Linked DNA regions of Homo sapiens: regions 2 and 3 are each linked to region 1. Evidence: promoter capture Hi-C in 16 types of primary human blood cells and fetal thymus (Javierre and others, 2016). All regions are on one chromosome and are shown on one strand. The core of a region is centred on a gene start or on the middle of the fragment in contact, and the rest is flanking DNA. Distances in the headings are between cores, read along the strand shown.

Region 1 (3,006 bases), core at 289-2,788:
TGTTCACAACTTAGTGGAGGGGCAGACATGCAATCAAACAATTAGAATACACTCTGTTAAAGCCACGTGTACAAAGATCTAGGGTGCTATAGAAATGTGTAAAACTAGGCCAGGCGTGGTGTTGCTCACACCTGTAATCCTAGCACTTTGTGAGGCTGAGGTGGGAGGACAGCTTGAGCTCAGAAATTTGAGATCAGCCTAGGCAACATAGTGAGACCCTGTCAGAAAGAAAAGAAAAAAGAAAAGAAAAGAAGGAAAGAAAGAGAAAGAGAAAGAAAGGGAGAAAGAAAGAAAGAGAGCAAGAGAGAAAGAAAGAGGAAAAAGAAAGGAAGAAAGAGAAAGAAACAGAGAGAGAAAGAAAGGGAGAAAGAAAACAGAAAGAGAGAGAAAGAAAGAAAGAGAAAGAAAAAAAGAAAGAGGAAAGAAGGAAGGAAGGAAGGAAGGAAGGAAAGAAGGAAGGAAGGAAGGAAGGAAGGAAGGAAGGAAGGAAGGGAGTAAAGCTGTGTTTCTCAACTGGGGAGTGATTCCAACCCCTGCCCCCAGGAGACATTTGGCAATGACTGGAGACATTTTTGTTATGACTGGGTTTGGTGGGGGGGGGGTGGCTACAGGCATCTAGTGTGTAAACGCCAGGGACACTGCTAAATATCCTAAAATTCACAGGACAGCCCCTCTAACGTAAGACTTAGCAGGCCCAAAATATCAATAGGGCTGAGGTTGGTAACCTCTGGTATAGAGCCAGCAAAATATCTTCTACAAGAGACAGGGAAGTGGGTAAAGCTTGGTTTGGGGATGAGGGGGTGGTTAGGGAAGAGTTTAGTAAAGAGATAATGACGGGGGTGTGGGGGAAGGGAAACTCCCATCCGAAGGGACAACATATACAAAGCTGCAGAAGCGTGACATATTTGGGCGATCCCAAACACTGGGGAAAGAGCTGTGGTCATTAAGTCTGGACAGCTAGGCAGGAGCTAGACGTGCAAGAAATCATATTGAGTTAGAGGAACTACTGTAAGAAAAACTGTTTGGCTCTGTGGTGGCTCTTTATAAGTCACTCAGGAGCACAGTGTTGGTACATCTCTCTGCGAGCTAAAACTGCTGAAGAAAGCTGTATGAAATGAAGCTTTTTTCATCCTGCTTTCTTAGGGCCTGGTGTTTCCCAGGCCTGTGTTACTGTCTCAGAGATAAAATCAGGGCTGCTTCATTGGAATATGAGAGGTGAACTAGCTCTCTATTAAAGCCACTCAGCTGGTGTCTTGATGGTGTGATGGGATCATGAACAGGGGTGAGGTGGTTATTTTTCATGAGTTAGGCTTAATATAGGCTGCTGCTGACGTGTATTTCCTCTTTCATAGAGCATCCTTAGTCCAGAAATGGGGAGCTATGAACCTTAAGATTAGACCACTAACTCGAATCTAAATGAGCTGCCCTTGTCTCCTACAAAAGAAAAGTTGGGCAGGTAGGGTATTCTAATGAGGGTTTCTCTTTCTCTTAAGCAAATGATGATCAAAGTTAACTGACAAACTGTCACGGAATCTGCCAGACCTCACTCTGGCCTTGCTGCTTCTCTCCAGCTCCTGAACTTTTCTTTCTTCCATCATGCTCTGAGCCCATTCCTTGAAAACTAAAAGGTCCCTGACTCCCAGTCTGCAGCCATCCTGGGCCTGCTGAGCTCTGATTCAAGTGCCTGCCTCTGCCCCTTGGTGGGCTGAAGCTTCATGGAGGTGAGTGACCCTTTTTTTTTTTAACTTAGCAGGGCTTCTAGGAATAGTGTGGAAAACAGGATCATAGAAGAGGATATGGATTTAGGAGCACAAAAGGAAATTCATGAAGGGAAGTATTTAACTTGTGACAGCTGGTAGCTACTATACTCTCTCCAAGCCTTGGAATAACTGATAATTTATACTAGAGAAGCTGGTAGGAAAGTAATGAAATCCACCAAAACATTTTGAGAAAAAATAAACTATATACTATATACAATTTACTTTCATTATCAATGTAATCATTTTATTTTAGATTTAAAAATTATTATGTATAACTTGGTTTGCTTACAATACCTTCACATTTGATTATTTTATATTTAAGGCAGAGTTGATACTTAGATAGTAAACATTTTTAATTGAATTCTTCCTTTAAGACCTCTTCAGAGCTAAAATAAAGGAAGTTATGTTCTTCTGAACTTAGTGTTTTCCTGATTGTCAAACAAAAGAAAATGGTTATTTACTACATGAAAGCTTGAAAAACTCACTAAGGGTTTTTCAGGGGCCCTTGAATCCTGAGTTATCATCCATTTCCACTAGTTTCCACTTCTTATAAAGTTTAATTTCATTATATTAATCATTAAGATCAGTTTCTAATTTCCTCTATCATAGGACCTTTAGGTTTGCTGCTACTCATCTCTGTGCTTAGCTATTGAAGCAAACAGGGCTATAAGCATTTTGTTTATAATTTCTAGGGCAAAAATAAACACTATTGCCTAAACCTACTATATTCTTATTACTTTAAGGCCAAGTCAGTGAAAATAGACACTTTTCCATAATAGTAAAAAAATTGTTTGTGTGATAGTGAGTTTCCCATTACTTCAGATGTTCAGGCAGAGGTTGGAAAGGAGTGAATTAAATGGCTTAAAATTTCTTTCAACTCTGGGAAGCTCCAAGAAGTCAGAAAGTTCAGAATCTTGCCTTCTTATGTGCAAATGGCTTGACTCGTGAAGCAGGAGTGTGTCTTGCTCTTAGGTTTAAGCTGGCTGTGCTATATAGTTTGTCTCTGTGGATGAACTGTATTTTTCTGCTCTCAAAGTTAATTCTTCATAAAAACTGCCCATCAAAGTTTAAAAATTACTTTGAAGGAATAAAGGTTGAAAAGCAACAAATGAACTCTCCTTAGATATCTTAACTATGATTTCAAAAATTTACAACACAAAACTTCTCAGGAAAAAAAAATCTCTGGTAAAAATTAAGGATTTCTTATGCAAGCTTCCATGGACTTCATAGCTCTTTGCCTTTTCTC
Region 2 (3,006 bases), core at 296-2,795, 130 kb before region 1:
ACAACATTCTTAATTTCCCTCTAAACAGGCCACTCTACTTCTAAAAAGCAAAGATGGGCACATTTCCACTAGGTCCCTCAATACAGTTTATATGGGTAGCTGAAGATTATAGTTTCCTTTGACCTAAGAGGGCAAATAGTAGACAATAATTACTAAGCCACAGATCTAAAGTATTCTTACTCCCAGAAGCAAGCAGATCCTAATTGTATTCTGAAAACAAATCTGGAGTATTGGAAAACAAACTAAAGGGAAAAAATAATCTCTATATAACATATTCATTCCCCTCCCTGCCCCCGCCCAGCTTTTTTTTTTTTTTGAGACAAGGTCTCACTTTATCACCCAGGCTGGAGTGCAGTGGTATGATCTTGGCTCACTGCAGCCTCGACTTCCCAGGCTCAAGTAATCGTGTCTCAGCCACCCAAGTAGCTGGGACTACAGGAGCACGCCACCATGCCCAGCTAATTTTTTTTTTTTTTTTTTTTTTTTTGAGACGGAGTCTTGCTCTGTCACAGAGGCTGGAGTACACTGGCGCGATCTCAGCTCACTGCAACCTCTGCCCCCTGGGTTCAAACAATTCTTCTGCCTCTGCCTCCTGAGTAGCTGGGATTACAGGCGTACGCTACCATGCCCGGCTAGTTTTTGTATTTTTAGTAGAGACGGGGTTTCAGCATGTTGGCCAGGCTGGTTTTGAACTCCTGACTTCAAGTGATCCACTCGCCTTGGCCTCCCAAAGTGCTGGGATTACAGGTGTGAGCCACCGCACTCGGTCATGCCCAGCTAATTTTTAAATTTTTTTTTTGTGGAGATGGAGGTTTCATCATGTTGCCCAGGCTGGTCTCAAACTCCTGTACTCAAGTGATCCACCCACCCTGGCCTCTCAAAAGGGCTGGAATTACAAATGTGAGCCACCGCACTTGGCTTCATTCACTTTAAACTGAAGATGACATAAATTTCTTTTCTTTTTTTTGAGACGGAGTCCCGCTCTGTTGCCCAGGCTGGAGTGCAGTGGTACAATCTCAGCTCACTGCAACCTCCGCCTCTCAGGTTCAAGTGATTCTCATGCCTCAGCCTCCCCAGTAGCTGGGATTACAGGCGTGCGCCAAGACGCCCAGTGAAGTTTTTTTAGTACAGATGGTGTTTCACCACGTTGGCCAGGCTGGTCTCGAACTCCTGACCTCAAGTGATCCGCCTGCCTCGGCCTCCCAAAGTGCTGGGATTACAGGAGTGAGCCACTGCACCGGGCCGAGATATAAAATTTTTAAATTCAGCCTTATCCTCTGCTCTTTAATCTAATGAAATACTTGAATATAGTTATATTTTAATATCAGCTGAGATCTAGACAATCCATAGATAATTCTGCTAAATTTAAAAATCAGTCCTATTTTGTCATAAAGTGCTATCCATACCTGACTGACACCCCCAGGAGAATACATTGTAGTAGCAAGGGCCAGGAGGGTATGTCCTTCCAATAGCATACTGCTTACACTGGCCTGATTGGTGGGAATCAAAATCTGAGCATTTGCAAGGCTAGCCTGGAAGATCAGTTTGGGATCTGGAAAATAAAAGACAGTGTTTTTCTCCTTAAGAGGGATAAATACTAAATTAAGGATTACATAAATGTGAGAACAATAACATAAATTTTTAACTCTATCCCCAGTAAAAAAAAAAAAAAAAAAAAAAAAAGGACTTCCTAAATTTAAAAGCAATGGGAAAACATCACAGAGGGAAAAAATGAAAGATTTGTCTACATAAAAATAAAAACTTCTGTTCAAAGAAAATTAAAAGGTAACAATGAACTGAGAGAAAAATTGTAACAAATGACAACCTAAAGAGTTGCTGAGTTTGTTCTCAACAAAGAGCTCATCCAAATCAATGCCAAAAATACTGACTCTAACAGATAAATGGGCAAAAGAAATAACCAATTTATGAAGGAGGAAATATAAATGCCTGACACATAAAACTATATAATTCACTAGCAACAAAGAAATGCAAATTAATTAGATGCCATATACTACCTATCCAATTAGCAGTAATTTAAAAAAACTCATCATCAAGCATTAGAGCTGGTCACAGTGAGTAGAGACTAGGACTTAAAATAAAATTGTACAACTCCCTTGGAAAGCAATCCGGTCCTACAGCAAGAACCTTAAACATGTGTAACCTTTGACCCAATAGTTTTATATCCCAAAACCTATCTGTGCTAAGAAAATAATCTGAAATAAGGACAGTTTTATATTGAAATATATTCAAGACTATTATTTATAATAGAAAAAAATGGAAAATGCCCTCATTGTCGGAAAATGAGAGAACAGAAAATTAAATAATGGTATATCCATACAATGAAATATTATGTAAACATTTAAAATGGTCACTGTCTTTTTTTTTTTTTTTTTTTGAGATGGAGTCTCACTCTCTCACCCAGGCTGGAGTGGAGCTATCTTGGCTCACTGCAAGCTCCACCTCCCCAGTTTATGCCATTCTCCTGCCTCAGCCTCCCAAGTAGCCGGGACTACAGGCACCCGCCACCAAGCCGGGCTAATTTTTTTTTTGTATTTTTAGTAGAGACGGGGTTTCCCCGTGTTAGCCAGGATGGCCTCGATCTCCTGACCTCGTGATCTGCCCGCCTTGGCCTCTCAAAGTGCTGGGATTACAGGCATGAGCCACTGCGCCTGGCCTAAAATGGTCATTGTCTTTAAGAATGTGGGAAAATTCTGTTATAATATTACACACAAAAAAGCAGTATATAAAAACATAGATGTTTCTTGTTGTTCTACTAGCACTTAACAATAGTCTGTCACAAGGTAGGAGCTCAATAAATATTTGTTGGGTGAATGAAATACAATAGAGACTAAGTTTTTAAAAAGTACAGTGAAGATAACTGGAACAAAATACATTAAAATATTATCAGTGGTTACCTATGGGTGGTTATTTTCCTATGTACCTAGGCTATCTACCTATGGAGGTATTACTTTTTAATTAATTAATTATTTTTTAAAAAAGAGACAG
Region 3 (3,006 bases), core at 283-2,782, 89 kb before region 1:
TAACAAGCAAAAAACAACCCCATTAAAAAGTGGGAAAAGGACATGAACAGACATGTCCTTTCATGTCCTTCTCTTTTCAAAAGAAGACATACACATAACCAATAAGCATATGAAAAAATGCTCAATATCACTTAACATTAGGGAAATGCAAATCAAAATCGCAATGAGATACCATCTCACACCAGTCAGAATGGCTATTATGAAAAAGTCAAAAAATAACAGGTGCTAGCGAGGTTGCAGAGAAAAGGGAAAGCTTATACAGTGCTGGTGGGAATGTAAATTAGCTCAGCCAATGTGGAAAGCAATTTGGCGATTTCTCAAAGAACTTAAAGCAGAACTATCATTCAACCCAGCAATCCCATTATTGGGTATATAACCAAAGGAATATAAATCATTCTACCATAAACATACATGCACACATATATTCCTCACGGCACTATTGACAATGGCAAAGATATGGAATCAACCTAAATGCCCATGATTGGCATTTAGGTTGGCAAACTAGTGTATTAGTAGTCTGTTCTCACACTGCTACAAAGATACTACCTGAGAAGGGAGGTTTAATTGACTCACAGTTCTGCATGGCTGGGAGGCCTCAGGAAACTTACAATCATGGCAGAAAGTGAAGGGGAAGCAAGGCATGCCTTACATGGTGGCAGAGAGAGTACAGGGGAAAACTGCCACTTTTAAACCATCAGATCTCTTGAGAACTCACTATCAGGAGAACAGCACTGGGGAAACTGCTCCCATGATGCAATCACCTCCCTCCCTTGACACATGGGGATTACAATTCAAGATGAGATTTGGGTGGGGACACAGAGCCAAACCATATCAACTGGATAAAGAATTTGTGATTCATATACATGATGGAATACTATGCAGCCATAAAAAAGAGCGAGGTCATGTCCTTTGCAGCAACACGGATGGAGCTAGAGGCCATTATCCTAAGTGAACTAATGCAGGAACAGAAAATCAGATACTGGGTGTTCTCACTTATAAGTGGGAGCTAAACACAGTACACATGAACAAAAAGAAGAGAACAACAGACACTGGGGCTTACTTGAGGGTGGAGGGTAGGAGGAAGGTGAGGATTGAAAACTGCCTATCAGGTACTATGCTTATTACCTGAGTGATGAAATAATCTGTACACCAAACCCCCATGATATGCAATTTACCTATGTGACAAACCTGCAAATGTACCCCTGAACCTAAAATAAAAGTTAAAAAAATTTTAAAAAGGTGAAATAACAACCCAAAGAACGGGAGAAAGTATTTGTAAATCATGTATGTCATAGAGTCTAGCATCCAGAATATATACACAACTCTTAGAACTCAATAAAAAGACAACCTAATTTGACAGACATTTCTCCAAAGACGACACACAAATAGCCAATAAGCATATGAAAACATGTTCAACATGTTTAGTCATTAGGAAAATACAAATGAAAACCACAATGAGATGCCATTTCATTTTGACTTCACACTGACTAGGATGGCTGCAATAAAAAACAAACAATAACAAGTGTTAAGCTAAGATGTGCAGCTAGCAGAACCCTCATACATTGCTGATGGGAATGTAAAATGGTGCAGTCACTGTGGAAGTTTGGGGATTCCTCAAAAATAATAAATGACCCAGTAATTCCACAGCTAGGTATATACCCCAGAGAAATGAAAACATATGTCAACACAAAAACTTGTACACAAATGTCCACAGCAGGATTATTCATAATGGCTAGAAAGTGGAGACAACCCAAATGTCCATCAGCTGATGAATGGATAAACAAAATGCAGTATATATTGATACAATGGAATATTCAGCCATAAAAAGGAATGAAGTTGTAGTGACATGCTACAACATGGATGAACTTTGAAAACATGCTAGGTCAAAGATGCCTGTCACAAAGGTCACATATTTTATAATTCAATTTACATGAAATGTCCAGAATAGAAAAATCCAGTCAGAAAGTAGATTGGTGTTTAAGACTTGGAGACAACAGGAAATAGGGAGTGGCCACTAATGGTTATGGACTTTCTTTTTGAGGTGATGAAAATGTTCTAGAATTAGTGGTGATGGCTGCACAACTCTGAATATACCACAGGCCATTGAATTGTACATTTTAAAAGGGTGAATTTTATGGGTATGTGATTTATATCTCAATAAAGCTGTCATTTAAAGAAACTGGCACATAACATTATTAACTTCAGGGACTGTGAGTATAGCAGAAGGTACCCTGCCCTTGATTCTAGCTCCTGTCTTTATTAACATGGCTCTGGGTCACCCACTCAATCACTGAAAGCCTAAGTTTCTTCATCTGTAAAATAAAAAGAATATAAACAACCCAATCTGTCTCATATGGTTGTTTTGGGACCAAATTAGATATTCCATGTAAAAGAGTGTTTGTGAATTATAAAATCTTACATAAATTCAGGTTATGCCTCTTCTGAAGTTGGATCAGAATAGTAGGAAGCAGGCTGGGTGCAGTGGCTCACTCCTGTAATCCCAGCACTCTAGGACACAGCGGGTGAATCACTTGAAATTAGGAGTTAGAGACCAGCCATGGCCAACATGGCAAAACCCTGCCTCTACCAAAAAATACAAAAATTAGCTGGACATGGTGGCGCGTGCCTGTAGTCCCACCTACTGGGGAGGCTGAGGTGGGAGAATTGCTTGAACCTGGGAGGCGGAGGTTGCAGTGAGCTGAGATTGCACCACTGCACTCCAGCCTGGGCAATAAAGTGACACCCTGTGTCAAAAAAAAAAAAAAAAAAAAAGTAGGAAGCATAAGGTAGGAATAAAAGATCATTACTGTTCAAGCTTTCCATAGCTTATTTCCACTTCATTTAGTCTCATTAGCTTAATGTTGCCTCCATTTCCTGTACCTTTTTCTTATTATTTACTATAATCTTATATCTTTTAAAGCCAAAAAGGGTAAACTGCTAAGCAGAGTTAGGGTAATGAAACAGCCAGAACTGTTTAAATAGATATACAAAGGCTATAGTTCTTTT

Evidence for each region. The method cuts DNA at HindIII sites, captures the fragments that hold promoters and counts their contacts. A CHiCAGO score of 5 or more calls a contact.
Region 2: a contact is called between a fragment that was not itself captured here and the fragment with the promoter of TRIM69 in region 1, in 5 of 17 cell types (activated CD4 T cells, non-activated CD4 T cells, total CD4 T cells and 2 more). The highest score is 6.6, in activated CD4 T cells.
Region 3: a fragment that was not itself captured here is called in contact with the fragment with the promoter of TRIM69 in region 1 in 5 of 17 cell types (non-activated CD4 T cells, total CD8 T cells, naive CD4 T cells and 2 more); the score reaches 6.8 in non-activated CD4 T cells.

The regions. Positions count from the first base shown.
Region 1 is chr15:44,734,990-44,737,995 of GRCh38, forward strand. It overlaps TRIM69 (tripartite motif containing 69), which reads left to right and starts at 1,539. Exons shown (of 7, transcript NM_182985.5): 1 at 1,539-1,721. The coding sequence starts at 1,716. The HindIII fragment of the contact is 591 bases long and covers 1,119-1,709 here.
Region 2 is chr15:44,609,434-44,612,439 of GRCh38, forward strand. SPG11 (SPG11 vesicle trafficking associated, spatacsin) reads right to left here. Exons shown (of 40, transcript NM_025137.4): 18 at 1,407-1,552. Among named protein-coding and RNA genes, the nearest start is that of SPG11, 53 kb to the right of the region's middle. The HindIII fragment of the contact is 6,165 bases long and covers 1-3,006 here.
Region 3 is chr15:44,645,762-44,648,767 of GRCh38, forward strand. The region is part of intron 7 of SPG11 (SPG11 vesicle trafficking associated, spatacsin); the gene reads right to left. Among named protein-coding and RNA genes, the nearest start is that of SPG11, 16 kb to the right of the region's middle. The HindIII fragment of the contact is 2,562 bases long and covers 252-2,813 here.